Regions from separate parts of the Homo sapiens genome. Here region 2 is linked to region 1. The links are contacts of gene promoters, found by promoter capture Hi-C in blood cells and fetal thymus (Javierre and others, 2016). All regions are on one chromosome and are shown on one strand. Each heading gives the region's core, a stretch centred on a gene start or on the middle of the fragment in contact. The rest is flanking DNA. Distances are from core to core; before and after follow the strand shown. Region 1 holds the start of RAD54B (RAD54 homolog B). Region 2 overlaps RAD54B (RAD54 homolog B).

Evidence for each region. Contacts are between HindIII fragments. The CHiCAGO score rates a contact against its expected background, and 5 or more counts as called.
Region 2: a contact is called between a fragment that was not itself captured here and the fragment with the promoter of RAD54B in region 1, in 1 of 17 cell types (naive CD4 T cells). The highest score is 5.1, in naive CD4 T cells.

The regions. Positions count from the first base shown.
Region 1 is chr8:94,472,789-94,477,603 of GRCh38, forward strand. RAD54B (RAD54 homolog B) reads right to left here and starts at 2,327. Exons shown (of 15, transcript NM_012415.3): 1 at 2,213-2,327. RefSeq lists a silencer at 542-591 and an enhancer at 2,060-2,289. The HindIII fragment of the contact is 4,488 bases long and covers 1,619-4,815 here.
Region 2 is chr8:94,406,998-94,411,812 of GRCh38, forward strand. It overlaps RAD54B (RAD54 homolog B), which reads right to left. Exons shown (of 15, transcript NM_012415.3): 4 at 4,124-4,318; 5 at 442-723. Among named protein-coding and RNA genes, the nearest start is that of FSBP, 28 kb to the right of the region's middle. The HindIII fragment of the contact is 1,264 bases long and covers 1,965-3,228 here.

The sequences.
Region 1 (4,815 bases), core at 1,077-3,576:
AGATGCTAAAATTTCTTTCAACACTAAATGCGAAGAATTACTACCCTAAATCCTTCTACATCTAATACATGATTTCTGATTTTTCAATCCTCCTATTTTGTAAACTAATAAAAATGATAATGCAAGCATACAACCATCAGCACAGAGCAGTGGTTAAGAAAACAGACTGACTCTGGAGCCAGCCAGGCTGCCTGGCTAGAATCCCAACTCTGCTACTTACATATGACCTTGGGCATCCATCAAGCCATTTAATTTGTTGATACAAAGTAAAATGCAGAAATCAGTACATTTCCCCCCAAAAGACCATTGCACCCTTATAGCTTTTTAAACTGGTTCTGTATGTTCATATTGTCCTGTCCATAATAAATTAATTAATTAATTAGTGCTGTCTGAGCCCTTTCCCCAGGTCCTAGAAATAAAGCCATTTGGTAGCCCTGATGTGATGCTACAACTTCTATAACACCTATTAGTTTCAGTCCTTCCAAGTAAAATGGTAAGGCCAAGCTGACAACTGTAATACACCAGATAGCCACAAGTACTTGGCACTACACTGTGGTAAATAAGAACACAACTTTGAAAGCAAATGCCTGAATATAAATGTGGACTGACACTTTCTAATGGTCTTGCACAGTTTACTTTGGCTCCATGTGTCTCAGTTTCCTCATCTTTAAGAGGGGGTACCATAATCATGCTTACACACCGGACTGTTGGGAGGATTAAATGAAATATGTAAAGCACTTAGAACAAAACTTGACACATAGTAAGCACTCAATGTTATCTGTTATAATTAGTATTATCGGAGAGTAGAAATGATGAAGGTCCTGTGAAGGAGATAGAGAAGGGGTAGTTCAACATACAGGACAATGACCAGAATCTTTGGGTTCGTCTGGGCTTTAAAGAGAGGTATGTGCAACCATCAAACGTCGAGGATGCAAGAATGTAAGTACACCAACTCTACCAAGAACCAGCAACGGTCTCTCCCTGCTGTTGCTGCTTGTCGACTTCCAACTACATTAGGTAGTAATTATTTCACTTCATGCCTTAAATTGCTCCTTTGAGACTCCGGCTATATAGATGGTTCCTAATTTAGGACGGTGTCACTTAGAATTCTTCGACTTTTAAGAAAGCCATGAGCATTCAGTAGAAACTGTACAAGTAACCACACAACCGTCTGTGTTCATGATTTTGCCCAACTGTAGATTAAGGTAAGTGTTCTGAGCATGTTTAAGGTAGGCTAGCGCAGCCATAAAAAGGAATGAAATCATGTCCTTTGCAGCAACATGGGTGCAGCTGGAGGCTATTATCCAAAGCGAATTAAAGCAGAAACAGAAAATCAAATATTGCATGTTCTCACTTATAAATGGGAGCTAAACATTGGGCATTCATGAACATAAAGATGGCAACAATAGACAGTGGAGACAACTAGAAGGGAGAGGAAAGGAGGAGCAAGGGTTCAAAAACTATTGGGTAACATGCTCACTACCTGGGTGACAGGATCAATCGTATCCAAACCTCAGCACCACGTAATATACCGATGCAACAAACCTGCACATGTACCCCCAAATCTAAAATAAACAGCTGAAAATAATTTTTTTGATAACAAAAGTAGGCTAGGCCAAGCTTTAATACTCAGTAGGTTAGCTGTGTTTTAAATCCATTTTCCATTTGGGATATTTTCAACCCCGTAGTAAGTCGAGAAGCATCTGTTCCTACCTAGAAAATCTTCCATAAGGTAATCGATTAAAAGGTTTTAAGGAAATACAAGAAAAACCTGACCAGTGAAGAGGTAAAAGCCCCTAAAGAAGGCGTACCGACACTCTCCAGGACGCTCGCAGAGCCTTCACCCCCTGGCCCTGGGGAAGGAAATTCCCAGTGCAGGAGTGAGGGAGAGACCCAAAAGCCAAGAGGAGCCTGCGCAAAGCGACCGCAGTGGCGGCCCCAGGGGCCACTGCCCAGAACCATCCCTCCCACACAAACGCACAACCCTAAACCCCCACCGCCCGCCCTTCGCTCCAAGGCCCCCGGGGCCAGCAACCAGGGCGTCCCTGGCACTTCAGACCAAAGCTGCAGGCCCGCAGAAGGCCACTTCGGTCGCTCCTGCCGCCTTCCCTCCCTCCTCCCTCGTTGGCCTGCTCCGGCGCCACTCCCTGCTTTGTCCCGCACGAGCCTACAGGCTGTCGCAGCCTCCCGAGCTTCCCCCTGCAGGACGCACCGGCGAAAATCTGACAGAAACCACTGGCCCTGCAAAGAAGTCCTTCTGGTAACCAGCTATCCCCTCGCCGCCGGAGAAGCTCAAGGATCCCGCCTCGGCGAAGCCAATCGCGGACGAGCCCGCCGCGCGTGCGCACTACCTAGCCGCTGCACTGCCCTGTCCTGCCCTACTCTGATTGGACGACCCTACTGCATCACTGCGCATGTATCTTTGCGTTTGGCTTTAAATGCTTCCAAGTTTGATTCAAGTTTACGGTTCAATTAAAAAAATACTGGTTTAGTGCCTACTTTCAGACACAGTGTAGATGCCGAGGCTACAGACCTCACCATCTGCGTGGATAAGTAATAAATACGGTATGATTCGGTGTGTGCGATAATAGAAATGCGTGCATCGCAGAAGTATACGATATCCTATTGGTTATTCATTCATCCGAAAAAACATTGACTTAGCGGTGCCTGCAGGATAATTTTCAAACTCTTTGTTAGGTTCTGGGAATATAGAAACGAATACGTGATTATTAGGCTCTCAGAAAAGGGGAGCCGCCTCCGGACTTGGAAAAGCATTAAAGCATGTTAAGTAGGAAAGTTACATCATTCAATGAGTATTTACTGAGCACCTTCTAAGTGCTAGGCGGTAACACAGTCAACTATCCCTGAAAAATGGTATTAGAAAGGCTAATCTGAAAGGAGAGAGAATGGCTAAAGGTTGTTTATTGAGTTTTATCCAGCAGTTTGACAAAAAGTAAAAGCTAAAAAATATCAAGGGTGAAATGAAGATGTGAAACAATGGGAACTCTTGGGCTGCTGGTAGGAGTGTAAATAGGTACAGCCATTTAAAAGAGTAATTTGAGGCTGAGAGCGGTGGCTTGTGCCTGTAATCCCAGTACTTTGGGAGGCCGAGGCGGGCGGATCACTTGAGGTCAGGAGTTCGAGACCAGCCTGGCCAACATGGTGAAACCCGGTCTGTACTAAAAATACAAAAATTAGCTGGTTTTGGTGGAGCGCGCCTGTAATCCCAGCTACTCAGCAGACTAAGGCGGGAGAATCGCTTGAACCTGGGAGGTGAAGGCTGCAATGAACCGAGATGGTGCCGCAGCACTCCAGCCTGGGCAGCAGAGAGACCCTGTTTCAAAAAAAAAGAGTAATGTGCTTAAGGAGCTTTTATCCTGGGGACTTTTTCCAGTCATAAAGAGCACCTCATAGGTTGAGTTGTGCTTTTGGCAGCTCCTGGAGCCAGCGTTACAAGAATTTGAAATGGGGACCTGCCAAGGTTGGGCACCTTAGTAAACCGCACCCCCCTCTTCTTTGGACTGGGACACATAAAGAGTAAGGGTAACCAGAAAACAAGCTAGCTTCATAGTGTCTGCAGCCTACCTTAATATCATCTGGGGAGTTCAGAAAATCTAAAACAGATTGGCTAAAGGTGACCTGGGACATTCCTCTTGCAGATTTGCATCTGGTTTGATCCTTCACTTCAGATCATTACTCACATATCAACTTGTCAAAGGGCTTTATCTGACAGTGCATTGCTCTCTTGTCTCATCTTGTATCTCCCTTACCCTGCTTTATAGAGTTCATCACACTTTCCATTCCCTAACATATACTTATTTGTTAATTGTTTTTCTATTACTCTCAGAATATAAGCTACATGAGGGCAGGATCTTTGCTTTATTCTCTGCTGTACCCATGTGTTTAGAATAGTACTAGTCTTTTTTGTTTTGTTTTGTTTTTTGAGACGGAGTCTTTCTCTGTCACCCAACTGGAGTGCAGTGGCATGATCTTGGCTCACTGCAACCTCTGCCTCCTGGGTTAAAGCAATTCTTCTGCCTCAGCCTCCCAAGCAGCTGGGACTACAGGCATGCGCCGCCACCAAGCCTGGCTAATTTTTTGTATTTTTGGTAGAGACAGGGTTTCACCATATTGGCCAGGCTGGCCTCGAACTCCTGACCTCGTGATCTGCCCACCTCGGCCTCCCAAAGTGCTGGGATTAAAGGCATGAGCTACAGCACCCAGCCAGAACTGTACTAGTCTTACAGACCGCACTCAATAAATATTTGTTGATATTTATTTGGAGGCCAAGGCAGGAGGATCACTTGAGGCCAGGAGCTTGAGACAAGACCAGCCTGGGCAACATAGTGAGACACTGTCTCTTAAGAAAAGAAAAGAAAAGAAAGAAAGCTGGAAGAAGTGTACACATGAACACTCTGTTCTGTTTTTGCAAGTGTTCTGTAAGTCAAACATTAGTTCAAGTAAAAAGTTTAAAAAGGCCAGGCGTGGTGGCTCACGCCTGTAATCCCAGCACTTTGGGAGGCCAAGGCGGACGGATCACTTGAGGTCAGGAGTTCAAGACTAGCCTGGTGAACGTGGTGAAACACTGTCTCTACTAAAAATACAAAAATTAGTTGAGCATGGTGGTGAGTGCCTGTAATCCCAGCTACTGGGGAGGCTGAGGCAGAAGAATTGCTTGAACCCAGGAGGTGGAGGTTGCAGTGAGCCAAGATCGTGCCATTGCACTCCAGCCTGGGCAAAAGAGCAAGACTCTATCTCAAAAAAAAAAGAAGTTTAAAAAACAAGATTTCTGTTACTCAACAAATACTAAACATG
Region 2 (4,815 bases), core at 1,347-3,846, 66 kb before region 1:
GACTTTGCATGAAATCTTACCATTCAATATTTTTACACACTAATGCTTGTGATCAAGGCATACAGTCCTCAAATTAGAAGTATAATCATAGTCCAGATTAATACATTTACTAATTTCTCTCCTTACTAAAAAGTCAGATTTTATTCAAAATTATACACATGTATGTGTAATGTATACACATACAATTTAGATATGTTTCCTTCAACACATGTACAGTATTTTTATTACTGTATTCTTAGAATTATTCATTTACATATGAAATAATTCCCAAACTATATTGTTATTTGACTTCAACATTATCTCTTATGTCAGATTATATATCTCAAGAATAATGTATACTTTCACCTAAAACTTTTAAAACAAAATTTAAACTTCAAATTCACACACAAAAAACATTTTGACAGTAAAAACAGAAAATTCAAATTATTTTTAAAATCTTACTTGGCGTATATGGGTCATGGCGTGGTTTGCAATTTTGGAAATCATTCTGTCTATTTTCCTTTGAACTTGGTTTACAAACACTTTTGAAAGGGTTAGAGAAACATTTCCTGGCAACCTGAGAAGAATGCGAGATAGCAGTACTTCCTCCTCCAAGCTGAAAACACCTGCCACTGCTGAAGTCATCTGGAGAGATTACACCCATGACTTCTATTTCTTTTCCACAAATCATCAGTGTTTGGCCCTCTTCAATCTTTTCAAGCTCTTTGAATTTATAACCAATGCCTTTAAGTTAAGAAAGAAAAAAATTAATTGACACTCTATGATACCACGGTCACCTTCCCGTAACTGTACAAAAAAACTGCACTTTGAATGTAAATAGTCTTATATAATGCATTAGCCAAAATGGAAGCATAATTTAACATTTTGGTTAAAAAAAACATTGAAAATCAAAAGAAATAATACAGCTATCAAATTAGCCATGCTTTAGAGAAAGCAAGAATTTTTTTACTATTGAAAATATAGATTATTGTACTCTATAGTTTTGCCATCTCTTGTCCGGAAAAATTAAGCCAAGAAAATAGTTTGATAGGCTATATGTATCCTCCTTTCTTGTAAATAAACTACAGAAACATCATGGTACCTCTATTTTCACTTAGAAACAGCTAGAAATGTGAAGGAGAACTAGCAATAAAAGCAACTGCTACCACAACTAGTACTGACTGTTCCACATGAGATAGCAAAGTTAAAATACAGTTGTGGCAAGAGGTCACAGATATTCCATGTTCTAACTCTTTAATAAAACATGGAATATTTTGTAATATTAAGCTTGTTTGAATTATTATTAATTTGATGAACATTTATTAAGTGTTGCTGTGTAAAGGTGCTGATGAAATATAAGTATGGATAAGTCAGTCATGGGCTGCTTAAAATGAGTTCACTAACCACATAGATGGCATTTTAGACTTCCATGCTTGTCTATTAAATGCATTAAACTATTAAATGTGTAGTTATTGTGCCATTACCAAGCAAAGGAGCTGTGTATACCAGAAACTTTTAAGTCTCTAAAAATAATAATAAAAGACTGCCACATTTTAGAAAATATGATGACCCTTTTCAAGTAGTTGAAAATTACTAAAATTTTCTCTACTGAAACTGGCCTAAAATTTATAATCTGTGCCAATCTGTATTTAATATATAGTCTTAAATTATTTATGGTGGAATACTTTTTAATTGTAATGCTCTGATATAGGAAGAAATTACTTAGCTCAATGTCAAAGACCCATCACTCCATCCCAAATCAGTATTGGTCTTCACTTATCCAAATTAATGAAGATTATAGTTTTATCTTCACATAAAATCCAATTACTGTTAATCTCAGTTTTACATGGAAATGGAAGACAAGAATAACCTTTTAACTTTGAGGTACCTTTAAAGTAGCTCTAATTCCAAGATCTCTCATTTCATTTAGATCCATAGATGATCTTGATCCAAAGGTGACTCTTTCAAACATCTCAGTCGCTAGAAGCTTTTCTTTTACTCTTAAACTTTGTTTCACATACTGGTTTTTTTTTTTTCCTAGGTATTATGCAATGATGGCCAACTGAGCCTGATGCATTATCACAAGCTATTAGCAATTTTAGCATTCCAGCTTTCAGTTTTCTTAGCACCTCTATCTTTACATTAACAAATTTACATATTGTATATCCCAGTTATTTAAAAGAAAAACTGCTTATAGACAGTAACTTGCAAAATTAACTTCAGGTTAATACATTTATTAATGTTATAATTAAGCAACCAAGTCCTATGTTTGGATATTTTCATTTTGAAAACCCTAAAATATACCTATGTTCAGTCCCTCTCCCTACCATACAGGCCAAATAAATCAGAGCCTCAAAGAAAGGTCAGAGTCTGGGCATCGGCATTTCTTTTCTTTTTCTTTCTTTTTTTTTTTTAAGAGACAGGGTCTCTCCAGCCCAGGCTGGAGTGCAGTGGCAGGATCAAGGCTCACTGCAGCCTCGATCTCCTGGGTTCAAGCAATCTTCCTGCCTCAGTCTCCCAAGTAGTTAGAGTTACAGATGCATGCCACTACACCTGGTTAATTTATTTTTTTGTATAGACAAGGTCTTGCTAAGTTGCCCAGGCTGGTCTCGAACTTAGCCTCAAGCAATCCTTCCCCATCAGCCTCCCAAAGTGCTGAGATTACAGGCGTGAGCCACTACACCCTTAAAAGCACCTCAGATGATTCTACTGGCATGGTCAGGGTAAAAACCCACTGTTTTAAGCCTAATTTTCATTTTTTGTTACTTGCAACTGAAAGATCATTTTATTATAAACTACACATATGCAAAACCATGCACACTATACCTTAGGGGTAAAAGATATTCCAAAGTAATTGTGATAATTTTTCCTCTCTCACTGACTTTAGAATTTCACTAAAGAGGCAATACCAATGCATGAACAAATTCTCCAAAAATCTAGCCCCAATCGACCTTAACCAACATAGAATGTGTACTATCTATTTTTCTTTTTACTTCCCCAATCACTATACACAGTTGTTCCATATTTTTATAATAAATAAAACATTCTATTGTAGATAATTTAGTTTGCTTCAACTCTTAACACTGTCACGGCCTTTCATACACTACATTCCTGAAACACTGAACTAGTTTGAATTCCTTCCTGCTTTTGTGCCTTTACATGTGCTATTCTCTCTTGCACATGGCCCTTACCTATAACCTCCAAAACTATTCATCCTTCAAATAGTATCTTAAACGGTAACTCCTATCAAGCTTACCCCTAGCCTCCTGTGCAGATTAAATGGTTCTTTTATGCTCCCACTGCTTCCTGGGCAGATTAAATGGTTCTTTTATGCTCCAACTGCATTTAGTAAAACTTCTCATTGAAACAACTGTATTATTGCTTCCTAATCATCAATTACTTTGCTTTGTTCCCACTAAATTATAAATTATAATCATCTTTGGTATTCCTAGCATACTGCCTGGCACATAATAGTTATTAAAAACTATAAACTATATTTTTAAGTAAATAAACATGTAGAACAGATTTTATAGTTATAGGTCACACTCAAAATTGAACTGAGACAATGCAAAGACACTGTAGTTGGTGTTAGCCATTCTTAATTTGTAGCCTAACTTGTATTACTACAAATTATGCTGGCAACATTTTGTAACAGAAACAATGGCAACCTCCAATTTCCATATGTTAATCTAGGTCAGGCCTAACCATTATCTCCTTGCTCTGTTTTTCAAAACATTATTGAGTAGTGCTGAAATTACATATCATTCAACTTGATATCAACATATTTTTCAATTTTAACCACTTAGCATTCTTAAAAAGAGAGAGAGAGAAAGTATACCAAGTCAAATTTAGTGTTTAAGCTCAGAAAAGTACCAAAATAACTATATATAGCTGGCTGGCCATTTTTGGAGAAAATGAAACCATAGGATAGGATTTGCTTCACTGAGCTAGCATAAACCATAAGATTGTCAGGCTCACTAACCATTATGAGATTATTTTATGTATTATACACAGTTGAGGCATGAACATCCATTAAAGAATACCTTATCATCTCTTTATAAAACCCAATTACATTTCAATTATGTAACCGGAGATACATACTAATTTCAGGCCAAACTGTAAACATTAGGTAGTATCATAATACCTCTTCCAATGTCTTTGCCTTCCAAATTCTTTAATATAAATGACTTTCCTTTTACAATAAGAACAGCATCACCTTCCCACTTTTTATGTTTTTTCTTTGAAGGCTTACACCAAACAACACTGAAATATTTAACTAGGCTATCAGATTTCTCTTCTTGTTCCTTGGACACTGCTACTTCTTTAGGAGCCGAATGAACTACAATTAAAAAAAAAACACACATTATTAAAAATGACTTTAATGTCTAAGTAGTAAGGTCATTCAAACAAAACCAAAAGGCACAAGAAAATTAGATTATATTAAGAAATAGTATGAAAGAATATTTGATCATACTCATGTTAGCATTTTATAAACTAAGAAATCCAAATATCAGGTGTTAATATTACCAGATGAGTATAATTACTACAAATGTCTTACTGTTCCGAAGTCAAATAAACTCAAATGAAGTAGAATAACATAATAATCACTGTAAACATTTTAAAACTCTAAAAATTAAGAAATTATTTCAATGTCTATAGCATGGAAAAATATCTAAAATCACATTTTGACAAAACTGATTTAATTAAGTAACATGACAAGCTGAGGAAAGGCAAAGATTACAGAGTTCTCTGAAAGTAAAACCTGAAATTTTTGTTTATTTAATTGATAAACAAAAATTATATATATGTAGGTGCACAACATTCTGTTTTGATATA